Linked DNA regions of Homo sapiens: region 2 is linked to region 1. Evidence: promoter capture Hi-C in human tissues and cell types (Jung and others, 2019). All regions are on one chromosome and are shown on one strand. The core of a region is centred on a gene start or on the middle of the fragment in contact, and the rest is flanking DNA. Distances in the headings are between cores, read along the strand shown.

Evidence for each region. Contacts are between HindIII fragments. The study calls those that stand out against the background at their distance.
Region 2: a fragment that was not itself captured here is called in contact with the fragment with the promoter of CHADL in region 1 in 2 of the 25 tissues and cell types used here (dorsolateral prefrontal cortex and mesenchymal stem cells).

What each region holds. Positions count from the first base shown.
Region 1 is chr22:41,238,465-41,244,913 of GRCh38, forward strand. CHADL (chondroadherin like) reads right to left here and starts at 2,467. Exons shown (of 6, transcript NM_138481.2): 1 at 2,410-2,467; 2 at 979-1,156; 3 at 1-421. The coding sequence starts at 2,417. RANGAP1 (Ran GTPase activating protein 1) reads right to left here. Exons shown (of 16, transcript NM_002883.4): 16 at 6,315-6,449. RefSeq lists enhancers at 1-32, 33-620, 2,070-2,570, 2,571-3,071. The HindIII fragment of the contact is 27,215 bases long and covers 1-6,449 here.
Region 2 is chr22:41,322,776-41,329,224 of GRCh38, forward strand. It overlaps ZC3H7B (zinc finger CCCH-type containing 7B), which reads left to right. Exons shown (of 23, transcript NM_017590.6): 3 at 2,789-2,822; 4 at 2,946-3,143; 5 at 4,431-4,589. Among named protein-coding and RNA genes, the nearest start is that of ZC3H7B, 24 kb to the left of the region's middle. RefSeq lists an enhancer at 1,371-1,871. The HindIII fragment of the contact is 6,758 bases long and covers 1-6,229 here.

The DNA.
Region 1 (6,449 bases), core at 1,217-3,716:
CCAGGGCCTCGGGGGCCAGCACGCTGAGCGCGTTGTGCGACAGCCGCAGCCAGCGGACGCGCAGTAGCCCCTGGAAGGCCATGGCGGGCAGGTAAACCAGGGCGTTGTGGGCCAGGTTTAGCGTGGCCAGCGCACCCAGTGCCCCGAACGTCCCCGGCCGCAGCTCCTCCAGTGCGTTCCCCTCCAGCTCCAGCCGCCGCAACGAGCCCAGCCCGTCCAGCGCCTCCTGGGGCAGCTCACGCAGGTGGTTGGAGGCCAGGTTGAGCAGGAGCAGGCGGCCCAGGCCACGGAAGGCGCCCTCGGCCACCAGCTCCACCTCGCAGTGGCGCAGGTCCAGGTGTGTGAGGTGAGGCACGCCCTGGAAGGCGGCTGCGGGGATCACCTTCAGCAAATTGCCCTGCAGGTCCAGCCGCTGGGTCAGCTGGGGACAGCGAGGAGAAAGTGGGGCTGAGCCAGGCAGGGACCCCGCCTTTGCAAGTGCTGCTTCTTCCCCGGAACACTCTTTTCTCCTGTCACCTTTCCCATATTTCTCTTCATCCGACCCCTGACACCTCCTCCAGGAAGCCTTCCTCTCCAGTGCCCTGGGCATCACCCACTGTGGCATTTTTCACACTGTGCTGTCCCTGCCTCCTCGCTCTCTCTCCTCCACTAGCTGATGACTCTGCAGAGCAGAGACCACACCTCACCCTGCCACAGCCCGCCTCTCCACCACAGGGTCTGCAGTGAATTCAGTATCGATCTATGGGTCACCTACTTATTCCATTCACACAGTAAGGATTTTAAATAGATCATCTCCCTGTTACTGGTTTTTATTATTCCCATTTTACAGAAGTGTAAACTGAGGCTCAAAGAGAAGTAATTTGCCAAGGTCTCCCGGGCAGGCGGTGGCAGATCAACTGGTGCCCAGCCCAGGCTCCTCCCTCTGGGTCCCCACCTTGCCCCACTGCCACTCTGTGCCTGTGCTCCTGCCCTGCTGACCTCAGGGATGGCGTCTGGCACCTCAGTGAGGTTCTGGTACCGGCAGGCAACGTGTCGCCTGGAGTTGTCACAGATGCAGGCCTGTGGGCAGCGCTGGGCGGCGGCCTGCCTAGCCGGGGCCAGCAGCAGAAGTACAAGAAGCGGCAGCACCAAGGGGACATGGGTGGAGCTCCGGGGCCTGGGACGGGGAGGGAGAGTCTGTTGTGCACAAGGGCCGAGGCCACATGCTGTCCCTCACTTAGTCCCAGCCATGGTGCAGCTCCTGCCCCAAAAACCCCTCAGAGCCTCCTCCTTTGGGCCCAGGAAAGTGCCAATCACCCTGAGCCTCCCTGCCCCCCACCCCCCACGCAGTGGAGGTCCTATGATTAGTCCTGTTTTACATGGGAGGAAACCGAGGCTCAGAAAAGTGACCTGGTTAGTCCCTTTGCCTCTGCCCAATGGCTCAGTGAGGACTTGCTGACTGTGAGAATGACTCCAGTTCAGAGCATGTTCTCAGGCTGTGGTGAGGCTCTGGTCCAGGGTAGGCTCGGAAGCAGCCTGTCCTCAGACTGATATGATGCCAGCTCCCAGGTGGCAGGAGCATAATGGTACCCCCCAGAAAGGAGGGAGGCATCCAGTCCGGGTCCTTGAGTCTTTTTTTGTTTGTTTGTTTAAATAGAGACAAGCCTTGCTCTGTTGCCCAGGCTGGAGTCTGGAGTGCAGTGGAATGACTATGGCTTACTGCAGCCTTCACCTCCTGGGCTAAAGTGATCCTCTCACCTCAGCCTCTTGAGTAGCTGGGACTACAGGCACACACCACCACGCCTGGCTAATTTTTTAATTACTTCTGGTAGAGACAGGGTCTCGCTATGTTGCCCGGGCTGGTCTTGAACTCCTGGCCTCAAGTGATTGTCCCACCTTGGCCTCCCAAAGCGCTAGGATGATAGATCACCTCCCCTGCCCAGCTGGCCCCTCTGTTCTCAGCCTGTGTCAGGCATGGCCTCTCCCCCATCGCTGGGCTGTTCCCCGGCCCCCAGGAGCCTCCCCCTCGCTGCTCACTGGACTATCGTCTGTTTTGGAGTCTCCTTTGGGTCCCAGGCTCCAGCCCCTGCGTTGGAGTTGGTGGCTTCTCCAGAGCCTGTGGTGAAGGCTGTGCCTCAGGGCAGGCCAGGGAGGGGACCCATGGGGACAGATCGCTGAAGCGACAAGCATTCATAATGCAGGGACCACTGCTGGGCTCTCAGACAAGCCCCAGAGGACCAGTTCCTGGCAGTGGCCACATTGCCACGTGTCTCAGAGCCCACCTTGGGAGACCCCCTTCCTGGAGAACCCCAGGAAGTCCCCAGAGCCCCTGCCCGCCAGCCTCTGAGAGGCCCAGAGGGGGCAGAGACTTACCTGAGGCCACTGAGCTGCTCTGAATCCCCCCTTGCACCATCGGGCCCAAAGACTCACCCCTCCATGCCGCCTGGAACTGCTGGTCCAGCCTGGAGGCGCAGCGCAGGGACAGGCTGTCCCCGCCTGGCAGGAGCCCCCCTCCACGGCCCGCAGGCCTGGCAGCTGGGACAGGGCTGAATGGGAGGCATTGTCGGCAGACCAGGCAAGCCAGGCTTCCCCAGGCTGAGGTGAAGAAGGGGCGGGCGGCGGGCGGGAGCAGCGGCTGGAGTTACAGGGCCTCCTGCCTGCCCCAGCCGAGGACTGAGGCCCCGGCCTGAATCCTTGGGCCAGCCCGACAGGGAGGGGGCACCAGCAGCTGGCCCGGGAGTCAGCAGTCCTGGGCTCCCTCCTGCCATGTGGGCTGCCCTCCCAGAGGCTGCTTCCTAGTCTCTGAAAAACACATCCCATTAATAAGTAGCTCTGAGGTCACAGTGGGGGTTCAGGCCCGCACCTGGCACACAGTGGGTGCTTCAGAACAGGTGACCCTTTCCTTCCGTTTGTGCTTACACATTGACATAAATAGTTTAATACTGGACACACAGGATTCTAGACACTCATTTTTTTCACTTAACCTCAGATTACTGGGAGTTATCCAAATTGACTCTTCCGAATCTCATTATTCTGTGGTATATAGTATTCCATTGTGTAAATGTATCACATTGACTTAGCCATTCATCTTGGACATTGGCTACCTCCAATTTTTTGCTATTTACAAACAATATTGCAAAGAATATCCAAATACGCATCTTCCCAAGCTCGTGTTTGTTTTTTAAATAATACATCCAGACCATGGCCAATGTTCATGTATCTTGATTTTTCAGATTCCTGCTTCTGATGGAATTGCATCTTCTACTGTTTGTTCCTTTAATTGGAAACAGGGGTCAGGCACAGTGGCTCATGCCTGTAATCCCAGCACTTTGGGAGGCTGAGGTGGGAGGATCACTTGAGCCCAGGAGTTTGAGACCAGCCTGGGCAACACAGACTCTGTCTCAAGAGAAAAAAAAAAGGCCGGGCGCGGTGGCTCACGCCTGTAATCCCAGCACTTTGGGAGGCGGAGGCGGGTGGATCACGAGGTCGAGATCAAGACCATCCTGGCTAACACAGTGAAACCCTATCTCTACTAAAAGTACAAAAAATTAGCCGGGTGTGGTGGCAGGCGCCTGTAGTCCCAGCTACTTGGGAGGCTGAGGCAGGCAAATGGCATGAACGCGAGAGCCGAGATGGCGCCACTGCACTCTAGCCTGGGCAACAGAGTGAAACTGTCTCAAAAAAGAAAAAAAATATATACATATATATATATATATATATATATATATATATATATATATATATATATATGTATGTGTGTGTGTATACACTTATGTGTGTATATATTTATATATAATAAAAATATAAATGTATATGTTTATATATATTTATATATGTTAAACAATGAACATCTGTGTGTACTTTTCCTAGACTGCAGGAGTTTTTTGTTTTTTGAGACAGAGTCTCACTTTATCGCCCAGGCTGGAGCTCACTGCAACCTCCACCTCCCTGGTTCATGCGATTCTCCTGCCTCAGCTTCCCAAGTAGCTGGGATGACAGATGTGTACCACCACATCTGGTTAATTTTTGCATTTTTAGTAGAGACGGGGTTTCGCCATGTTGGCCAGGCCGGTCCCGAACTCCTGACCTCAAGTGATCTGCCCGCCTTGATCTCCCAAAGTGCTGGGATTACAGGCATGAGTCACCACGCCCAGCCCTGCAGTAACATTTTAAAAAAAGAAATAGTGCCATGCCACACAGCCATCTGCTTTGTGCTTTTTTTGCTTGGCAAATTCCAATCAATGGAACTTCAGTGTGCTCTTTCGTCCTTTTTTTGAGACAGGGTCTCACTGTTGCCCAGGTGTGAGTGAAGTGTGATCATGGCTCACTGCGGCCTTGACATACCAGCCTCCCAAGCAGCTGGGACCTCCAGATATGCACCGCCACCTCCAGCTGGTTTTAAAATTTGTTGTAGAGTTGGGGTCTTGCTATGTTGTCCAGGCTGGTCTTGAACTCCGGGGCACAAGTGATCCTCCCACCTCGGCCTCCCAAAGCGTTAGGATTACAGGCATGAGCCACTGCACCTGGCTGTGTCTGGCGTTTTCCACTCAATATTATGTTAGTGAGAATCATCTTTTTATTTTTTTTTTGAGACGGAGTCTAGCTCTCGTTGCCCAGGCTAGAGTACAGTGGCGTGATCTCAGCTCACTGCAACCTCCGCCTCCCAGGTTCAAGGAATTCTGCTTCAGCTTCCCGAGTAGCTGGGATTACAGGCACCCGCCACCACACCCAGCTAATTTTTGTATTTTTAGTAGAGACGGGTCTCACCATATTGGCCAGGCAGGTCACAAACTCCTGACCTCAAGTGATCCGCCCGCCTCAACCTCCCAAAGTCCTAGGATTTACAGGTGTGAGCCCGCACCCGGCTTCATCTATTTTAATTTTTTTTTTAAATTCAGCATTCCAGCCTTCCATTCTATAAATATATGACAACAGTGGCATGGGGCAGGGGCGGGAGGCAGTCTGCCCACAATGCAGGCAGTAAGCGGGTGTGCTGTCAGTGGAGAAGTGAGACACAATGGAACTGACTTAAAGTTGGTCTCTGCTTTTTATTATCATGTGCTGACAAGTCTAAACAATGTCAATGCTAAAATATTTCTTCTTGGGCAGACCATTCCTACCTTCTCGGTACCACACCGTACCACAAGTAGCTTACCCATTCCTCTAGTGATAGACATTTGGGTTGTTTCCAGCATGGGTTTATTAGAAAGAGCACTGTAGCCGGGCATGGTGGTTCATGCCTGTTAAGTGAGCTGAGGCGGGAGGATCACTTGAGCCCAATAATTCAAGACCAGCCTGGACAACACAATGAGACCCTGTCTTTACAAAAAAAAGCTGAACGTGGTGGCTTGTGACATGGTCCCAGCTACTTGGGAGGCTGAGGCACGAAGACTAAGTGAGCCCAGGAGGTCGAGGCTGCAGTGAGCTGTGATCACACCACTGCACCCCAGCCTGGGTGACATGGCAAGACCCTGTCTCAAAAAAAAAAAAAAAAAAAAAAAAGGTTGTACCAATTTACACATCTGCCAGCCACTCCAGTTGCCCCAAATCCTCACCAAACTTGGTACTGTATTTTGTATTTTAGCCATTCTAGTGAGGGCATAAGAGTGTCACACTGTGATTATGTTTCTCTGGGAGGATCACCTGAGCCCGGGGGGTAGAGGCTGCAGTGAGCCGAGATAGAAGCTGGGCAACATGAGACCCTGTTTGAAAAAAATTAAAGTTATCCCCCCCACCCATATATATATACAGAGAGAGTTTAGGCAATTATTTTCTCCCTGTCTGTAAGTTGCCTTTGTACTCCTTAATGAGTATTTTGATAAACAGAAACCTGTTCTCACTGCTACATCATTTCCATTGTGTGAACATCCCACGATAATGGCAAAGGAGGTTAAATACAGCTTAATTTATTCATCTTTTCCTCACTCCTAAGGCCTTGAAGATACTCACTTACACTATCTCCTACAAGCTCTCTCTCTCTTTTTTGAGACAGGGTCTCGCTGTCAGTCATGCTGGAGTGCAGTGGCACGATCACGGCTTGCTGCAGCATCCACTTCTTGGGCTCAGGTGATCCTCCCACCTCAGGTTCCCAAGTAGCTGAGACTACAGGCATGCATCACCACACCCAGCTCATTTTTGTATTTTTAGTAGAGACAGGGTTTTGCCATGTTGGCCAGGCCAGTCTTGAATTCCTGGGCTCAAGTGATCTGCCCGCCTCGTCCTCCCAAAGTGCTAGGATTACTACAGGCGTGAGCCACCACACCCGGGTGAAGCTCTATAGTTTTGCTTAATTTTTAAAACATTAACTGAGGTAAAATATATTAATACATGAAATCTATCATTTTAACCATTTTTATGTGTACAATTCAGTGCATTAAGTACATTCACAATGTTATGCAACCATCACCACTCTCCATTTCCAGAACATCTTCATCATCCCAGAGAATCTGTTTGCAGCCTCACTCCCTATT
Region 2 (6,449 bases), core at 1,601-4,100, 85 kb after region 1:
ACACAGACCAGTAAAACACTCTTTGCCTTTTCTTTTCTTTGTGATGGGGTCTCCCTGTGTTGCCCAGGCAGGTCTCAATCTCCCGGGCTCAAGCAGTTTTCCTACCTCAGCCTCCCACGTAGCTGGGATTGCAGGCGCGTGCTGCTGTGCCCAGCGTACTCCCTTGCCTTTTCTCACCCATGTCACCGCAGACTGGGTCCCTTTTCACACGCCCTCGGTATCCATGCTGCTCTCACAGAGCGAGTGTTCATATTGACACAACACATTCTCCTTCCTCAGCGCACAACGCAGTCACTTTTCCTGGCCGCTTCTGGAGGGTGTCCTGCGCTGGGCTGATTTGATTAGGGGTTTTGGGTGCACCTAGAGCATGGCCCCAAGTTCAGCACCCCTTCCCTGGGCTGTTGTCCAACCCCACCTTGCTGCCATGGCTGGGAGTTTGCAAACCCTCCTCAGACTTGTTCATCAGAGCGGTTGCTAGCTCATCTCTCTTCATGGGCGGCAGGTCCTCTCCCATTTTGGGGAGTGAGGGTTTGATTTTGGGGAAGTGTTCCAATTTATTCAGAGGCCAGTCTGGTGAACAAGGTGACTCCGGCCACTGCTGTCTTCCATAAGAAGAGTTCTGTGTCCCCAGCCTCAGTCACTGATGTCTGTAGAGCTGGATTCCCAGCCCAGTTCTCCCATTTCCCCTACGGGGTCATTGTGAAGGTTAAGGGACCAGGTGGTGCTTGGGGTAAATGTTCACTCTCGTCCCCTCCTTCTCCTTTCCAAAGGGGCGTTCTAGGAAGGCCCAGCTACAAGGCAGCCTCCCCGAAGCCGTCTGTTGGCCTCCTAAGGCTTTGCAGGAAGCACAGTGGGACTCACTGCTTTTCACATCAGTCCCGCTATTTTTGCCCCACTCCTCCTACGCTGTGTTGGTGCACGTGTGCTTCATGTGCTTAGCACGTCCTGAGAGCCCTAAGTGAATTGGGACAGGTGGGTTGGCCCCAGCTTGCAGAGGACCTTAAGATGTCTACGGCCGGGCGCGGTGGCTCATGCCTGTAATCCCAGCACTTTGGGAGGCCAAGGCAGGCGGATCATGAGGTCAGGAGATCCCGACCATCCCGGCTAACATGGTGAAACCCTGTCTCTACTAAAAATACAAAAAATTAGCCAGGCGTGGTGGCGGGCGCTTGTAGTCCCAGCTACTCTGGAGGCTGAGGCAGGAGAATGGCGTGAACCCGGGAGGTGGAGGTTGCAGTGAGCCGAGATTGGGCCACTGCACTCCAGCCTGGGCGACACAGCGAGACTCTGTCTGGAAAAAAAAAAAGATGTCTTAGGACCGCATGACCTATGAAAGGTAGAGTTGATGCTGGAAGAGGGTAGGCTGGAGGCAGGAGGCCAGGAAGGTAGTGATGGGGTCTTTAGTGGGGGCAACAGAGGAGACAGACACTGCAGCAGTATGGGGAGGGAGGGCAGGTCTGGGGCCCAGACAGTGGGGAGGCAAGTGAGAGGTGGGCTGGTGAGCCCCGATGTCACAACTGGGGACACCTTCCACACGCATGTGCATACACAGCCCTCCTGGCGTTGCGCCTCTGCCCACCTCTCACGCACTAGCCTAGGCCACTCTTTCCTGCCCAGGTGCTGGCAGCATCTCCAGGCAACGGAAAGATCTCCCCAGCCCTGCATCCGATGCCTTCCTGCCAAGCAGCCTTGGGCGAGTCCTTGCGCCACTCTGAGCGTCTGTTTTTCCCTCTGTGGAATGAAGGACTGGGAGACAAAGCCCAGCTTCCCTTCCAGCCTGGCCATTGAGCCCATTGGAGAGATGAACCTCAGTTCTCCTGGGCTGATGCCCTCTTTCATACTGAGGGAGCATTAGCCACAGGAGGGAGCAGGTGCCCAGACCCCACCTAGAATGATTTGTTGAGTCCAGCATGAGGGACTGACAGGCTCAGTGAAGACCTGGCATTGGGTGGGGCGTGTGTTATGTGGGATTGGGCAGGGGAGGGGCCTGAGGTGGACTCCCGGTGCCTCAGTGTCTGTGGACCTGTGGTCTCGGATTTGGTTTGATGGGGCGTGGTCCTTCCCAAGGCCTGTTCTAGGTGTTAATTCCCTGACAACACTCATACTTCCTGCCTTTTCCTGCCTGCTCCTGTCCCTGGCACTCCTGCTGCAGCAGCCCCTGCACCATCCTCTCCTCCTGGCCTTCAGCTGCAGCTGGAGCCTTCCCCCGCTCTGCCTTGGCCAGAGTCTGATTTTCCTCTTGTCCTTTTCCAGTCCTGGGGGCCTCCTAGGCCCAAGTGTGGCTCCTCCCTCCTTCCCCTCATGTAACTGAGAAAGGGCTTGGAATGCCTGCTTTCCTTTAGGAGAGGGCTGGTTTTTTCAGCAGAGGATGGCTGTTTTTTTCAGCAGCAGGGACTGGGGCTAGGTCCAGGGCCAGAGGTAGAGCTGGAACTGAGCTGGGCTAGGACTGGCTTGGGGCTGGGGCTGTCTGGGTTGGGGCTGGAGCTGGGGCTGTGGCTGGAAGTGGGGCTGGAACTGGGGCCAGGCTGGAGGTGGGGCTGGGGTCAGTCTGCTCTTTCTCAACACCTGTACCTGGCAAAACCTGGCTGTCTGGCCCCAAGGAACATGCAGGTCCTTCCATCAGAACTGGAAGGCCTGCATGGCAATGATTTAGGAGAAGAAAACCGCAGTCTGTTCACCCTAGTCCACAAGGTGATGGCTGAGGTCTGAGTTGGAGGAGTAGCTCTGGACCTCCATGAAGCTGGGACCGCCGGGCTCACCCAGGCCTCGTGTTTTCTTTTCCTGATAGGTCGACACTACCCCTAAAGCAAGAAGAATATGAGGTGAGTGTCAGCTGCCAGGCTGAGCAAAGGTGAAGGGCGGAGATGTGCAGGGGAGAGGCGTGGGCCGGGTGCCAGAGCTGGGGCCAGAGGTCATGAGCCCCCTACACACCTTGCCCCCAACAGGCCTTTCTGCTCAAGCTGGTGCAGAATCTGTTTGCTGAGGGCAATGATCTGTTCCGGGAGAAGGACTATAAGCAGGCTCTGGTGCAGTACATGGAAGGGCTGAACGTGGCCGACTACGCTGCCTCTGACCAGGTGGCCCTGCCCCGGGAGCTGCTGTGCAAGCTGCATGTCAATAGGGCCGCCTGCTACTTCACCATGGTGAGCCTGGCACCCTCTTTTCTCTCCTCCTCTGCTGCCCTGATCCCCTGGATGCCCAGTCGAGCCAGGCCCATACCCCAGTGAGCCTGTAGACCAGGGCCAGCCTCCTCCCAGCCTGCTTTCAGAATTTCATTGTCTGTTCTCGTGGCTCTTAATCTCAACTGTACAACATGCTCAGCTGGAGAGCTTTTAAAAGTACGGATGCATAATAAAAAGTTTTTAAAAAAAATGATACTGATGCCCTAGCCCTAGCCCTGCCCTAGATGAAGTAAGTTAGAATCTTGGGGTGACCCTGGGCCTTGGTGGGAGTCTGACTTCTCCTGCTCCTCCCTCCCGGCCCCACTGTTTCTTCCATAGCCTCAGCCTCCTCACTGTTCCTTCCATAGCCTCAGCCTCCTCACTGTTCCTCCCATAGCCTCAGCCTCCTCACTGTTCCTCCCATAGCCTCAGCCTCCTCACTGTTTCTTCCGTAGCCTCCTCACTGTTCCTCCCATAGCCTCAGCCTCCTCACTGTTTCTTCCATAGCCTCCTCACTGTTTCTTCCATAGCCTCCTCACTGTTCCTCCCATAGTCTCAGCCTCCTCACTGTTCCTCCCATAGCCTCAGCCTCCTCACTGTTCCTCCCATAGCCTCAGCCTCCTCACTGTTTCTCCCATAGCCTCAGCCTCCTGTTTCTTTGCGGACTTCAGTGCCTTCCTCCTCCTCCTCCTCTCCTCCTTAGAGCTGCAGCCTCCTCCTCTTCCCTGTCCTGTGCACCCACTGACTCAGGTTCATGAGATCCTGTGGGAGGCTCTGCTGCAGGCTCTCTAGAGGACCCCATGACACCTCTGCCATCCAGCGAACTCTTCTGGATAAATGGCTCCTGGATGCCTCAGGGTTAACCCTTGTACACTCTGCACACAGAGCTGCCTTCATGGTCTCACTGCCTCTTAGAGATGCCATTGTTACTCTCAGCTCATCATGTTCCCAACCAAAGGCAGAGATGGAAATAGACGTGCTTGAGTGGCCGGGCTCATGGTTGTAGATCTTCAGGCCCTTCCCTGCAATATCCTGCCCGTGCCCACTGCAGCCCCATCAGCTGGACACACAGACACCCTTGATCAGAGTCTGGACACCAGAGTGCTTCCTTCTCTCCTGGAGCCTCGAGCCCTGTCCCTGACCCAAGACTTCAGCTCCTCTGTCTCTGCCAGGAAGGGAAGCTGGTGTTCCTTCCTAGGCAGGGGCAGGAGGCCTGGGGGAGGGAGGGTAACAGGTGTTGACCAGTGACCACATGCTCCTCTCTGGCAGGGCCTGTATGAGAAGGCGCTGGAGGACAGCGAGAAGGCGCTGGGCCTGGACAGTGAGAGTATCCGGGCGTTGTTCCGCAAGGCACGCGCTCTCAATGAACTGGGACGCCACAAGGAGGCCTACGAGTGCAGCAGCCGGTGTTCCCTCGCCCTGCCCCACGTGAGTGTGGCTCTGCAGCCACGCCGGTGCCTGCTCAGAGGCCAGGCTTCTGACCTTCCGGCCCTCACTTGGGCCCAGCCACCACATCCTTCTGTGTCTCACTTCCTCCCCTGTGACATGGCCATGCAGATCCTGATGTTAACACTAGCTCCCATTCTCTGAGCGCTGACTGGGTGCCAGGCACTGCTAGGATGCATTGTGTGTATTAACTCACCTAATACTGGCAATAACCCTAAGAGGCAGATACTGTGATTATTCTCATTTTAAAGATGATGAGGCCAGACACAGTGGCTCACGCCTGTAATCTCAGCACTTTCGGAGGCTGAGGCAGGCGGATCACCTGAGGTCAGGAGTTTGAGACCAGCCTGGCCAACATGGCAAAACCCCATCTCTACAAAAAATACAAAATTTAGCCGGGCATGATGGCGTGTGCCTGTTTTGCTAATTCTGTTTAGTTCACAATTAAGACCCTTTCTTGGCCAGACACAGTGGCTCATGCCTGTAATCCCAGCACTGTGGGAGGCCAAGGCGGGAGGATCACTTGAGCTCAGGAGTTTGCAACTAGCCTGAGCAACATAGCAAGACCCTGTTTCAACAAAAAATTAAAAAAAAATTAGCTGGGCATGATGGCACGCACCTGAGATCCCAGCTACTCAGGAGGCTGAGGTGGGAGGATCACTTGAGCCCAGGAGGTGGAGGTTGCAGTGAGCTGTGATTGCACCATTGCACTTCAGCCTGAGTTTGACAAAGCAAGAGCTTGTCTATTAAAAAAAAAAAAAGCCTTTCTTTATGACCATGGTCCCCTGACCCATATAGCATTTTAGAGTGTCCACAACAGATCCACACCTAGGTCTCACTGGTACTTACTCATGAGGAGGACAGGGCAGGTTTCATCCGCACCACAGCGGATAGAAAGGAGCTGGGACCCAGTTAGGGTTAGTAAATGGCCAGGGAAAGTAACTAAGGGCTCCTGGCTCTGCTTTAGGGAACTCTCTCTTTTCCCAATCTTTGTTGGGCAAATACTGACCGAGCTCCTGCTCCATGCTGGGCACTGGGGACCAGAGATGACTCCGACCCAGGCCCTGGCCTCTAGGAGATTGTCAGTGAGGTAGGAGGTAGACACGTGCACAGATGTCACAGTGTCTTCCTTGCCCTTTTGTGCCTGGACCCCAGTTTGTAGCCACCTGTTTCTTTGTTCACTGACTGTTCTCCCCCTTTAGATTGGAATCTCCATGAGGCCTGGGCCCATCTGCCCTGTTCGCTGGGGTATCCTTAGCCCCTCACTCTTGCTTGGCACGTAGTGTATGTTCTGTATTACAGCCTTGGAAGGGAAGGAAGGATGGTTGCTGTTTAGTGATCACTAAGTGTGGTCCAGGCACTGTTACAAGCTTTCTATGCCCTGCCTCCTTGGAGCCTTACAACCCTGTGCCTCATGTATGTATCGTCACTTGCTGGGGGTTGCAGGAGATTGTTTGGCGATAGAAACAAGTTGTAGAACTATATAATGTGACCTCATTCCTGTTTAAAAAAAGAAAGAGATGGCCGGGCACAGTGGCTCACGCCTGTAATCCCAACACTTTGGGAGGCCGAGGCGGGTGGATCACTTGAGGTCAGGAGTTCAAGACCAGCCTGGCCAACATGGTGAAACCCTGTCTCTACTAAAATACAAAAAAAAAAAAAAAAAAAAAAAAATTAGCTGGGCATGGTGGCACATGCCTGTAATCCCAGCTACGCGAAGGCTGAGGCAGGAGAATCTCTTGAACTCAGGAGGCAAAGGTTGTAGTGAGCTGAGATCGCGCCACTGCACTCCACCCTGGGTGACTGAGCAAGACTCCATCTCAAAAAATCAAAAAGAAAGAG